Regions from separate parts of the Homo sapiens genome. Here region 2 is linked to region 1. Evidence: promoter capture Hi-C in human tissues and cell types (Jung and others, 2019). All regions are on one chromosome and are shown on one strand. The core of a region is centred on a gene start or on the middle of the fragment in contact, and the rest is flanking DNA. Distances in the headings are between cores, read along the strand shown. Region 1 holds the start of NHP2 (NHP2 ribonucleoprotein). Region 2 holds the start of DOK3 (docking protein 3).

Region 1 (5,534 bases), core at 686-3,185:
CTGGTCCCCCTCCACTGTTCACATCTCAAGATTGGGCCCTCTGTCCCTCCAGCTGGGCATGTCAGAACCTAGAAGTCGTCAATACCTCCCCATTCTCCACATCTGAAAGTCCTTTCAAATCTGTCCCCTTTAACTCTGTCTCCACCATCACCTCTCCAGGACTACAGTAGTCTACTACCTGAACTTTCCCAAACCTACTCGTACCTCTCTAATCCTTTCTTCAATTGTCAGAAAAATCTTAGGGTGTAAAAAATAATAAAAATTATGTCACTTCCTGGCTTTAACCCCTAATAGCCTCCAAAGTGCTGAGTATAAAAACTAAATTTACTGTGTCCTACAAGGCCCCCTAAGAAGGTAGCACTTCTGCTCACCAGACCCTCTCCTGCCCAGAGGCCCACTCTTTCTTCTGGCAGAATCCTCCCACCCACCCCCCAATTAATCCCTGTGTCTTAAGACCTCAGCTCAAATGTGACTGCTGAGGGAAACTTCCCCAGATGCGCCCTCCCCAGCTAGGTTAGATGCCGTTGAGCATCAAGTCTGCCCAACATTATTGATCTCTTGAGCACCTACAGTTTCACTTCTTGGGATAAAGCAAGGAGGCCCTGTTCTGAAGGAGCTTACCATCTGGCCTGAGAGGGTGATAAAGGGAAGAAAAATGTAAACAAGGTTCAAACTTTGATAAATGCCATTAAGAAAAGTGGGGTGATGAAGTTATCATTGCACTCTGTTATTTTCCTTCATGGCTATCTATCACAACGTGTAATTAGTTGTGTGTGTGTCATTATCTGATGAATGAATGTCACTGTTTCCCCCATAACACAGTGCCTGAAAAAGAGTACATTCAATTGTTAAGGCTGCCAGGCGCGGTGGCTCATGCCTGTAATCCCAACGCTTCGGGAGGCTGAGGCAGGAGGATTCCTTGAGCCCAGGAGTTCAAGACCAGCCCGGGCAACATGGCGAGACTCCTCTGTCTCTGCAAAACAACAATAACAACAGCCAGGCGTGGCGCAAGCCGGTGGTCTCAGCTATTCGGGAGGCTGAGGTGGGAGGATCGCTTGAGCCCAGGGGGACGAGGCTGCAGCGAGCTGTGATCGCACCACCGCACTCCAACCTGGGTGAGAGCTAGACCCATCTCAAAAACAAACAAAAACGTTAACGTTCAGTTCCTTAAATACAGAGCCGGAGAGGGGTCATCCCTAGGACTGAGATTCAGGGCTGAGAGGATTAGGGCGGGGGCCGGAGGTAATCTGAGGCAAGGAGCGGAGCCCGGGGAGGAGGGTCCCTGAATTAATGAAGGTGGGTTTACTCTAAGGGACTTTGCTTACACAATTCGCTTCACTTTGGAATTCACTTTGAGCTGGTATACGTGGTGTACCGGTATTGTCGTACCGGTATTGTACCAAAGGGACTTTACCGACTGCTTGATTGGCTTCTGTATATGGGGCTAGGTCAGAGTTAACCTTTTTACTGCGCGCCTACTAAGTAGAGATTTCTCCGTTAACGTTTAGAAATGCAAAATCCAGAGGAAGGAAGGTTCTTACCCTTTTTCTCCTTTGTTGACAAATTTCTGAACCTCTTTCACCCCGCGCCGAATCTGCTTCTGCTTCACCGCTGCAACGACAGAAGAGTCGGTCGGGGGCCTCGCTCAGCCACCCGCGCACCCATCCCACCCGCGCACCCATCCCGGCCACGCCGCCGTCCGCCTCACCTTTCTTGATGCATTTGTAGAGCTTCCGCGTGAGGCGGCGAGAAGCCAGGGGCTGCGCGATGGGGTTCTGGTTGACCAGCAGCTCCTGGTAGGTGCGCTCCCCGGAACACGCCTCCGCCTGAGCCTCGGGCCCGTCGGGATCTGCCTTTATTTTGGTCATCGCAGCGGCCGCTGAAACCTAGTCCCAGGGAGGCGAGCCCACGCGGTCCACAGCTTTAGGCATCACTTCCAGGTCATCAGCTGCGCGAGAAGCCGCCGTACAACACGGCCAATCAGGAAAGGAAGTCTCCGACTCAGCCCAATCGTTGACGCCCAGCTTCGTAACTACGGAGAGCGGAGAGGGGCGGAGTCATGGTCCTTAAGGCGGGGCCATCCCCGGACCAAGGGACTGGGCGGAACCGATTAGGGCGGAGCGGAGGGAATGTGAGGCAAGGGGCGGAGCCCTGGGAATCGGGGCCGGAGAGGGCGGGGCTCTGGGTGCTGGAAAGGCTGCCTCGTTTTTTTTCTTTTTTGAGGCAGAGTTTCGCTCTTATTGCCCAGGCTGGGGTACAGTGGCGCAATCTCGACTCACTGCAACCTCCGCCTCCCGGGTTCAAGCGATTCTCCTACTTCAGCCTCCCGAGTAGCTGGGATTGCAGGCATGCGCCACCACGCCCAGATAATTTTGTATTTTTACTAGAGACAGGGGTTCTCCATGTTGGTCAGGCTGGTCTTGAACTCCTGACCTCAGGCGATCCGCCCGCCTCGGCCTCCCAAAGTGCTGGGATTACAGGCGTGAGCCACCGCGCCCGGCCTAAGGCTGCCTCCTTTCTTGCATAATTTTTCTTTGTTTTCTGACCCCTGGACCCGGCTGCGCAGGTGTGAAAGATACAGAGCAAGGGATGACCCCACTGACCTGCGTCTGCACCGCTTTTCCACAGATAGCGTGTGGCTCACTCTCATCCCGCAGGGTTCCGTTTCAGTGTTTCCCATGGGAGAGGTTTCCCTGGTGATTTTATCTAAAATTGCCGTCCCCTCTCTCTCCAAACCAGCATCCCTTCACCCGCTATTTTCCCGCAGTTCTTACCATTGCCTGACGCTACACATGCAGAGGGCCTAGCCGAGAAGCCAGCCGGGGCTGAGGGAAGGACGGCTCCAGCGAAGCCGGGAACAGCGGAGGGAAGGCTTTGGGGACTGAGCTCCCTGCCGTGCAGGGTGAGAGCTATGAGGAGCTACCCTTTGGACGGGTCTGTAGAAGGTAAAGGGACAGAGCTGCCAGGGCGTGGGGGGCGGTGGCAGGCCGAGATCCAGTGGATCTTGGTATCTCTGATTAGCCTCTTCCACTATATTTTGGAACTCTGGATGGATATTAATTAGATAATCGCTGCAAATTACTAATTTGTAATACTAATTACCTTTGATCCTGATGTGGCAGGCCTGCCATTTTTGTGTTGCTGGAACAGGCCAGTAAGTAGAAACTTAGAAGTGTTCCGGTAGTTGTGGGTGGGAACACAGGTCAGTTAAACCAACTTAAAAATTGGCCTTTCCCGGGTGTGGTGACTCGTGCCTGTGGTTCCAGCTACCCGGGAGGCTGAGAGGGGGCTCGCTTGAGCCCAGAAGTTAGAGGCTTCAGTGAGCCATGACTGCACCTGTGAATAGCCACTGCACTCCAGTCTGGGCCACCCAGGAAAATCTTGTCTCTAAAACAAAACAACAACAACAAAAACCTTGTAACTCTGAACTAAAGTGCAATAAATTTTGTTTTGCATTAAATAAAAACAAATAGGCTGGGCGCGGTGCCTGTAATCCCAGCACTTTGGGAGGCCGAGGCGGGCAGATCATGAGGTCAGGAGATCGAGACCATCCTGGCTAACACGGTGAAACCCCCGTCTCTACTAAAAATCACTCTGTCCAGCAGAGTGATGGAGAATTTCACTCCTGAGAACCCAGTTCAAACAAATTCAAACAAATGGGCTCGCTTGACTGACCTCACTCAGAGCCTCGGTTGTGAAGTCCCTTCAGCTCTTACATGGAAGGAAAAAGAAAGTTAACATTTATGTGGCGAGCATATTATATACAATATCTCATTCAGTGCTCACCAAAAAATACCTCTATGGTAAAGGTAAAGACTTTACCATCCTTTTACCAGGAATATATAACTTTATATTCACAATTTACTGACACACATAAAGATGAATAGTTTGGTACAGCTCACACAAAGCTGGATTTGAACCCAGGTCCACTTGTCTCCAAGCCCAGACTTTACCCATACCTGTGATTTGACATTTGACTTCAGCTCAAAAGGATACGTAAATAGTGAAAGTGTAGGAACCTCAGCTTGGCCCAGGTCACACGTGTCTGCATTTTGAGCCATAAGACAATGAAGTGCTGAGAACAAATATGTCTTCAGAAAACCACAGTGTTTTCTTTTTCTTTTTTTTTCTTTTTTTTTTTTTTGAGATGGAGTCTCGCACTTTGGCCCAGGCTGGAGTGCAGTGGCACCATCTCGGCTCACTGCAAGCTCCGCCTCCCAGGTTCACGCCATTCTCCTGCCTCAGCCTGCCAAGTAGCTGGGACTACAGGTGCCCACCACCACATCCGGCTAATTTTTTGTATTTTTAGTAGAGACGGGGTTTCACTAGGGTTTCACCGTGTTAGCCAGGATGGTCTCGATCTCCTGACCTCATGTTCTGCCCGCCTCGGCCTCCCAAAGTGCTGGGATTACAGGCATGAGCCACCGCGCCCGGCCCCCTTTTTTTTTTAAGACAGAGTCTCCCTTTGTCACCCAGGCTGTGGCATGATCTCAGCTCACTGCAATATCTGCCTCCCAGATTCAAGTGATCCTACTGCCTCAGCCTCCCAAGTAGCTGGGATTACAGGCACCCGCCACCATGCCCAGCTAATTTTTGTACTTTTAGGAGAGATAGGGTTTTACCATGTTGGCCAGGCTGGCCTCGAACTCCTGACCTCAAGTGATCCACTCGCCTTGGCCTCCCAAAGTGTTGGGATTACAGATGTAAGCCACCGCACCTGGCCTGTTTTCTTTTTTTGTTGTTAACACACTGTGTATTTCTTATCTTTTTTTTTTTTTGAGACGGAGTCTCGCTCTGTCACCCAGGCTGGAGTATAGTGGCCCCATCTTGGCTCACTGCAAGCTCTGCCTCCTGGAATCACGCCATTCTCCTGCCTCAGCCTCCCGAGTAGCTGGGACTACTGGTGCCTGCCACTACACCTAGCTAATTTTTGTTGGTTTGTTTGTTTGTTTGAGACAGAGTCTCACTCTGTCGCCCAGGCTGGAGTGCAGTGGCACGATCTTGGCTCACCACAACCTCCACCACCCGGGTTCAAGCGATTCTCCTGCCTCAGCCTCCCGAGTAGCTGGGATTACAGACGCCTGCCACTGCACCCAGCTAATTTTTGTAGTTTTAGTAGAGACGGGGTTTCACCATCTTGGCCAAGCTGGTCTTGAACTCATGACCTCATGATCCACCCGCCTCGGCCTCCCAAAGTGCTGGGATTACAGGTGTGAGCCACTGCGCCCGGCCACGCCCAGCTAATTTTTGTATTTTGAGTAGAGACGGGGTTTCACTGTGTTATTCAGGATGGTCTCGATCTCTGACCTTGTGATCTGCCTGCCTGGGCCTCCCAAAGTGCTGGGATTACAGGTGTGAGCCACTGCGCCCAGCCAACACATTGTGTATTTCTAAAGCCAGACTCAGAAATCTGTTCTGAACCCAGGTTGTTTTGCATGACTTTATTACTTTATGGATTTTGTTGGAATGGCTATTTGAGCTTACTTTTTTGTTTCTTTTTTCTTTTTTTTTTGAGATGGAGTCTCGCTCTGTTG
Region 2 (5,831 bases), core at 2,993-5,492, 640 kb before region 1:
CCATAGCAACACAGCCGGGTCAAATGCCACAGCTTCCTCACCAGGCTCCTTGCTCCTGTCAACTGCCTTTTTTTTTGACATGGAGTCTTGCTCTGTCACCCATACTTGAGTGCAATGGCGAGATCTCGGCTGACTGCAATTTCCGCCTCCCGGGTTTGTTTTTTTTCTTTAAGATGGAGTCTCACTCTTGTCGCCCAGGCTGGAGTGCAGTGGCGCGATCTTGGCTCACTGCAAGCTCCGCCTCCCAGGTTCACGCCATTCTCCTGCCTCAGCCTCCCAAGTAGCTGGGACTACAGGTGCCCGCCACCAGGCCTGGCTAATTTTTTTTGTATTTTTAGTAGAGATGGGGTTTCACCATGTTAGCCAGGATGATCTCGATCTCCTGACCTCATGATCCGCCTGTCTCGGCCTCCCAAAGTGCTGGGATTACAGGCATGAGCCACCGCGCCCAGCCCGCCTCCCGGGTTTAAGTGATTCTCCTGCCTCAGTCTCCCAAGTAGCTGGGATTACAGGTGCCCACCACCATGCCTGGCTAATTTTTTGTATTTTTAGTAGAGACAGGGTTTTACCATATTGGGCAGGCTGGTCTCGAACTCCTGACCTCAGGTGATCCACGTGCTTCGGCTTCCCAAAGTGCTGGGATTACAGGCACGAACCTCCATGCCTAACCTCAACTGCCTTTTGTTTTTTGATTTTTAAAATATGATAAAATACAGAGAACATAAAATTTACTGTTTTAACCATCTTACTTTTTTTTTTTTTTTTGAGACAAAGTCTTGCTCTGTCGGCCAGGCTGGAATGCAGTGGTGCGATCTAAGCTCACTGCAACCTCTGCCTCCCAGACTCAAGCAATTCTGCTGCCTCAGCCTCTCAAGTAGTAGCTGGGATTACAGGCGTGTGCCACCACACCCAGCTAATTTTTGTAATTTTTTTTTAGTAGAGATAGGGTTTCACCATGTTGGCCAGGCTGGTCTCGAACTCCTGACCTCAGGTAATCCGCCTGCCTCGGCCTCCCAAAGTGCTGGGATTACAGGTGTGAACCACTACGCCCGGCCCATTTTACATCTTAAAGTGTATCATCAGTGCTCTTTTTTTTCTTTTCTTTTTTTTTTTTTTTTTTTTGAGACGGAGTTTTGCTCTCGTTGCCCAGGCTGGAGTGCAATGGCATGATCTCGGCTCACCGCAACCTCTGCCTCCCAGGTTCAAGCAATTCTGCCTGCCTCAGCCTCCCGAGTAGCTGGCATTACAGGCATGCACCACCATGCCCAGCTACTTCTGTATTTTTAGTAGAGACGGGGTTTCTCCATGTTGAGGCTGGTCTCGAACTTCTGACCTCAGGTGATCCGCCCGCCTCGGCCTCCCAAAGTGCTGGGATTATAGGCCTGAGCCACCGCACCCGGCCACCAGTGCTTTTTAGTATACTCACAAGGCTGTGCACTGTTGCCACTGTCTAGTTCCAGAACTTTTCCATCATCCCACATGGAAGCCCTGTACCCATGAGCAGCCACTCCCCACTTCTCCCTTCCTCCAGCTCCTGCCAACACTCATCTGATTTCTATCCCAATGGAGTTACCTTGTCTGTACATTTCTTTCTTTCTTCTTTTCTTTTTTTTTTTTGAGACAGGGTCTCACTATGTTGCCCAGGCTGATCTTGAATTCCTAGGCTCAAGCAATCCTCCTACCTCAGCCTCCCAAAGTGCTAAGATTACAGGCAAGAGCTACTGTGCCAGGCGTTTGTTTGTTTTTATGGCTGAGTAGTATTCCATCTTGCGGACGGACCACGTTTTGCTTATCCATTTGTCAGCTGATGGCCATGTAGGCTGTTTCCACCTTCTGGTGGCTGTGAGTAGTGCTGCTATGGACGTTCATGTCCATGTGGGTTTTTTTTTAAGATAGGGTCTTGCTCTGTCTCCCGGGCTGGAGTGAAGTGGCACGATTACAGCTCACTGCAGCCTCGACCTCTGGGGCTCATGCGATCCTCCTGCCTCACATGTACATGTTTTGTTTGAACACCTGTTCAAGTTCTCTTGGGCACACACCTAGGAGTGGACCTGTGGGCCACATGGTAACTCTGTTTACCTCTTTGAAGAACCCCCAGGCTCACTTCCTTTTGACCCATCACAGACCTTTTGGGGCTTTACAAACATGTCCGGCTTAAACCCTCCAAAGCCTTCGCCTCTCACTCAGAACAAAACCACACACATGGCCTAGGGCATTTCAGCCGCTCTCCTAAGCTCTGTGAGTTGGCTTCCTCCTGCACTCCTTTCCTTCCAGCCACGTCGCCTTCTTTCTGCCCTTAAACACCCCACACTGTCCGGCCTCGGGGCCTCTGCCCACGGGACTCCCTCTGTTCACAACTCCCCAGGCTGCCCCTGTCCTCAGACCTTTGCCCAGTGGGTTCCTGTCATTCAGGGCCCTCCTCTGAGAGGCCTTCCCTGGCCACCCTGCCCGTCGCTCCCTCACTTCCTCCTGCTCCCCTGGCGGTCCATTTTCTCCATGGCACGCACGGCCCTCTGAGAGTCATTATAGATTTACTTTTCCCAGGCTTGTAGGTGCTCGGTGGAGCTTGCTGGGTGATGGGATGTGAGCGTGGAGGTGGACAAGTCGGGGGCAGGTGCCCCAGCCCAATCGCCCCCCTGCTCGCCGCACTCACCGGGAAGGCCAGCTGGCAGATGGGGCCCATCCAGGCCTGGCGGTGCTGAGCAGCCAGTAGATGGCTTCGCTCGGTGGTGGTGAGCAGGAAGGCACCGGTGTCCCGGGGGCAGCTCTCGCCGTCAGCCGGCAGCACGGACACACAGTCAGCCAGGCGGATGACCCGTCGCTCCCCTCGCCGGCCAGGCCCTGCCGACCTGTCACCCGCTGCTCCCAGGCCACCATCCCGGACCTCCCAGCTCTCCAGCCGTGCCACGCCTGATGGGCCTCCTGCATACAGCAGAGCCCACACCTTCCGCCAGCACTTCTGCGGGAGGGGAGCGGGAGGGTGAAGACCCTTGGGTGGCAGATTGTCCGTGCCACTTGGCTCAGCACAAGCTGCTCGGCAAACGCTCCCAGCCAGGAGCGGGCCTCTGCTCCCCAGTTTCTCAGGGAGCCAGGTAAGGAGGCCTTGGCTATGCTTGGGATTGGTCAGCCCTGGGTTCAAATCCCAGCCCGCTCTTTCCTAACTGTGACCTCCACAAGCATCAATGTCGTCTCTCAAAAGGCCATGAGAACTCGAGCTGGGACTGCTACTGGGTCATGTTTGTAAAGCATCCAGTGGCCGGGCAGACCACCAGACACTGCCATTATATTGGTTCCCTCTCACCCCCAAAAAGGGGCACTTGGGCCACAGGCCAAGAGCTGGGGTGGGAGGGAGGCCTCTGCCTCAAGCTGTTAAGGAAGGAAACATGCAAATAGCTTCGAGCAAAGGAAACTGACGGTTTATCTGCCTGGGCAGCAGCTGCAGCTGAGCTGCGGGGGTGTGGGGCTGCTGCCGAGGAGAGGTGACCCCCTGCCTCCTTGCTCCCAGGACAGTGCCGCTGCAGGGAGGGGCTCCACCCTTGAGGCCTCCTCCAGCTCAGCCCCTCACCCTATTTAGGGCCCTCGGTGGCACTATTTCATGGGTCAGAGGCTGTGAAGCTCTTCCCTGCTGGGAGGTTTGAGCCTTCGACCCTCTCCCACTCCTGTATTTCCCATCTCTCCCGGAGGCAGGGTCTGGCAGAGCCTGCTCAGCCCCTGCCGTCTCAGGCTGACACCCGCACTCCATTCCACTCCCCATACCTGGGTGGGATCCTCCACCCTGACTCCCTTCCCAAGTCTCCCAGGTCTGCCTGGGCTGTCCGAGGCAGGGGCAGAGGCTGCATTCTCCACCCACTGTTGGTCCTTGGCAGCTGCCTGGCAGCCAGGGGTCCCCACCTTGCCAAACTTGACATGCTGCTGGTAGAGGATGCCATCCTTGATAGGGGTCTCCAGAGGGTCCATGGTCACGGCCAGGAGCAGGGCCGCCGCTTCAAGACCTGGGGAGACTGATGACAGGCTGGACGGGAACTCCTCACACTTCCCCTTCTGGCCACTTCCCGTCCCTCCGTCTAGAGACAGCTGCAGGCCGGGGGGAGGGGAGCCTGTCTTCAGCTCAGGGGCTGGGGGCAGCATGTATTTCCTCCCTGGGGTTCTGGCTGCCCAAGGTGCCCACACCTACCTGGAGGGAGCCCCCGGCCACCTGAAGGCAGCCTTCTCACGCACCTGGTTCAGCTGGGCACGCGCGTCTGATCGCAGTCTGGCTCCCCGAGTCATGAGTTCCCGCCCCTCCCCCGTCCCGCCCCGGGCAGCTGCGCACCCTGGGCCTGACACTCCCTGGCCCTGCCTCCACCCAGGACCCTTCTCTAGCCAACTCCTGGCTTTCCCACTCGGCGTCCTGGTTTGAGCGCCTCACCCCATCTTGCTGCTTTTCTTTCTCCCTGAAATCTCTCTCGTGTTCACCTGCTCCTCTCCACCTCACGAGCCACTGAACATCACCAGCCTTTGGCATCCCCCCAGGGGCCACTGCCCCACTGGGCCTCCATGCAGCACTCTCCACAACCCAAGACCAACCTGTCTCTCCCCTTCCTGGGGTGCAGCCCAGGCTCCTCAGCCCAACACTCAGGGACCTGTGTGTTCTGGCCTGCATCTCCCCCAGGCCAGCCCCTCCAGGGCCCCCTCACCACTGTGCTGCCTGGGGCGGTTGGCCACCTCTTCCTCCTGGAGGCCTCCCTTGACCACTCCACGCTGTCCGAGAGCTCAAAGGCCCTCACGGTATACACTCACGCTGGGCATCCAGTCCACATGGGACCCACAGCCCTGAATGGCCCCAACCACGTGAGTGTGGGTGGCAGGTCCCAGGGGGCCCCGGAGAGGTCACATGTTCATTTAAAGCTTTGCTTCCTGCTGGGGGCGCCTTTTGTTGGCTTGCCTAGCAAGATGCCAATAGCGGGGCTGTGTGTATACCTTTATTCTGGAACAGCCTCAGGTCATTCAGCACCACCTCTGGGAGAGAACATGGAAGAGGATAAGGAATGCCATTTGGGAATGCACTTGGCCAGGAAATATGTCCTGAAGGCCTCCTGGCACCCAGCTCTGTGCCCACTGTGGCCCAAGCAGCCCTAAGCTCCGTCCACCTCAGACGCCACATCCTTTGCGTTCTCATCGCCATTTCAACAGTGAGGAAATCGGTGCTCAGAAAAATTAAGTAACTTGCCCAATGCCACATATCAAGTGACAAATATGGCTTGAGCAACCGCTGTCTCACTGGAATGAGCATGTGGCCATACATGCAAAGTGCCTGGCTCAGAGGAAGTGTGGCCGCCTGTGCCGTCCCTGCCTACCTCTCACCAGATGCTGAGATCCTGCCTCATCTGCTAGCGGTCTTGTGACTGCCGTCCACGTTTCTGCGTGTGCGTCTTTCTCTCCCCTCGCCTGACGGCTTCCCAGGCAGCCATCTCCCTGGCCCATCTAGGTCCTCACAGCTCAGCAGAGCTGGGCACAGAGCAGGCTTAGGGAGAGCTTGTGGCCTAAATGGCAGTTCTATGACATCTGCTGCCTCCTCAGTCAACGGAATGGAGGGCTCCCTCCAGGTGGCTGGCACAGGCAGGCAGTGGGTGGGGGTCCTGAGGCAAGAAGCAGCCTCCCAAGGGGCTTCAGGAGAAGTCCCTGAAACATCACAGCCCTGACAGGAAGAGTGGGCCTGAGAGCTATGACAGCTGGCCAGGGAGACCAGAGAATCCAAGCACTTCTCCTTGGCCCGCCAATGTGGTCCCTCCTTGAGTCATAAATTCAGACAACCCAGTGGAGAGACCCAGAGTCCCCAGAGGCGGGCACCA

Evidence for each region. Contacts are between HindIII fragments. The study calls those that stand out against the background at their distance.
Region 2: a contact is called between the fragment with the promoter of DOK3 here and the fragment with the promoter of NHP2 in region 1, in 1 of the 25 tissues and cell types used here (lymphoblastoid cells).

The regions. Positions count from the first base shown.
Region 1 is chr5:178,151,950-178,157,483 of GRCh38, forward strand. NHP2 (NHP2 ribonucleoprotein) reads right to left here and starts at 1,936. Exons shown (of 4, transcript NM_017838.4): 1 at 1,709-1,936; 2 at 1,542-1,611. The coding sequence starts at 1,868. The HindIII fragment of the contact is 35,391 bases long and covers 1-5,534 here.
Region 2 is chr5:177,505,584-177,511,414 of GRCh38, forward strand. DOK3 (docking protein 3) reads right to left here and starts at 4,243. Exons shown (of 6, transcript NM_001308236.3): 1 at 4,175-4,243; 2 at 3,892-4,074; 3 at 2,654-2,959. The coding sequence starts at 3,957. RefSeq lists enhancers at 2,499-2,608, 2,629-2,678, 4,499-4,648 and a silencer at 4,229-4,368. The HindIII fragment of the contact is 13,536 bases long and covers 1-5,831 here.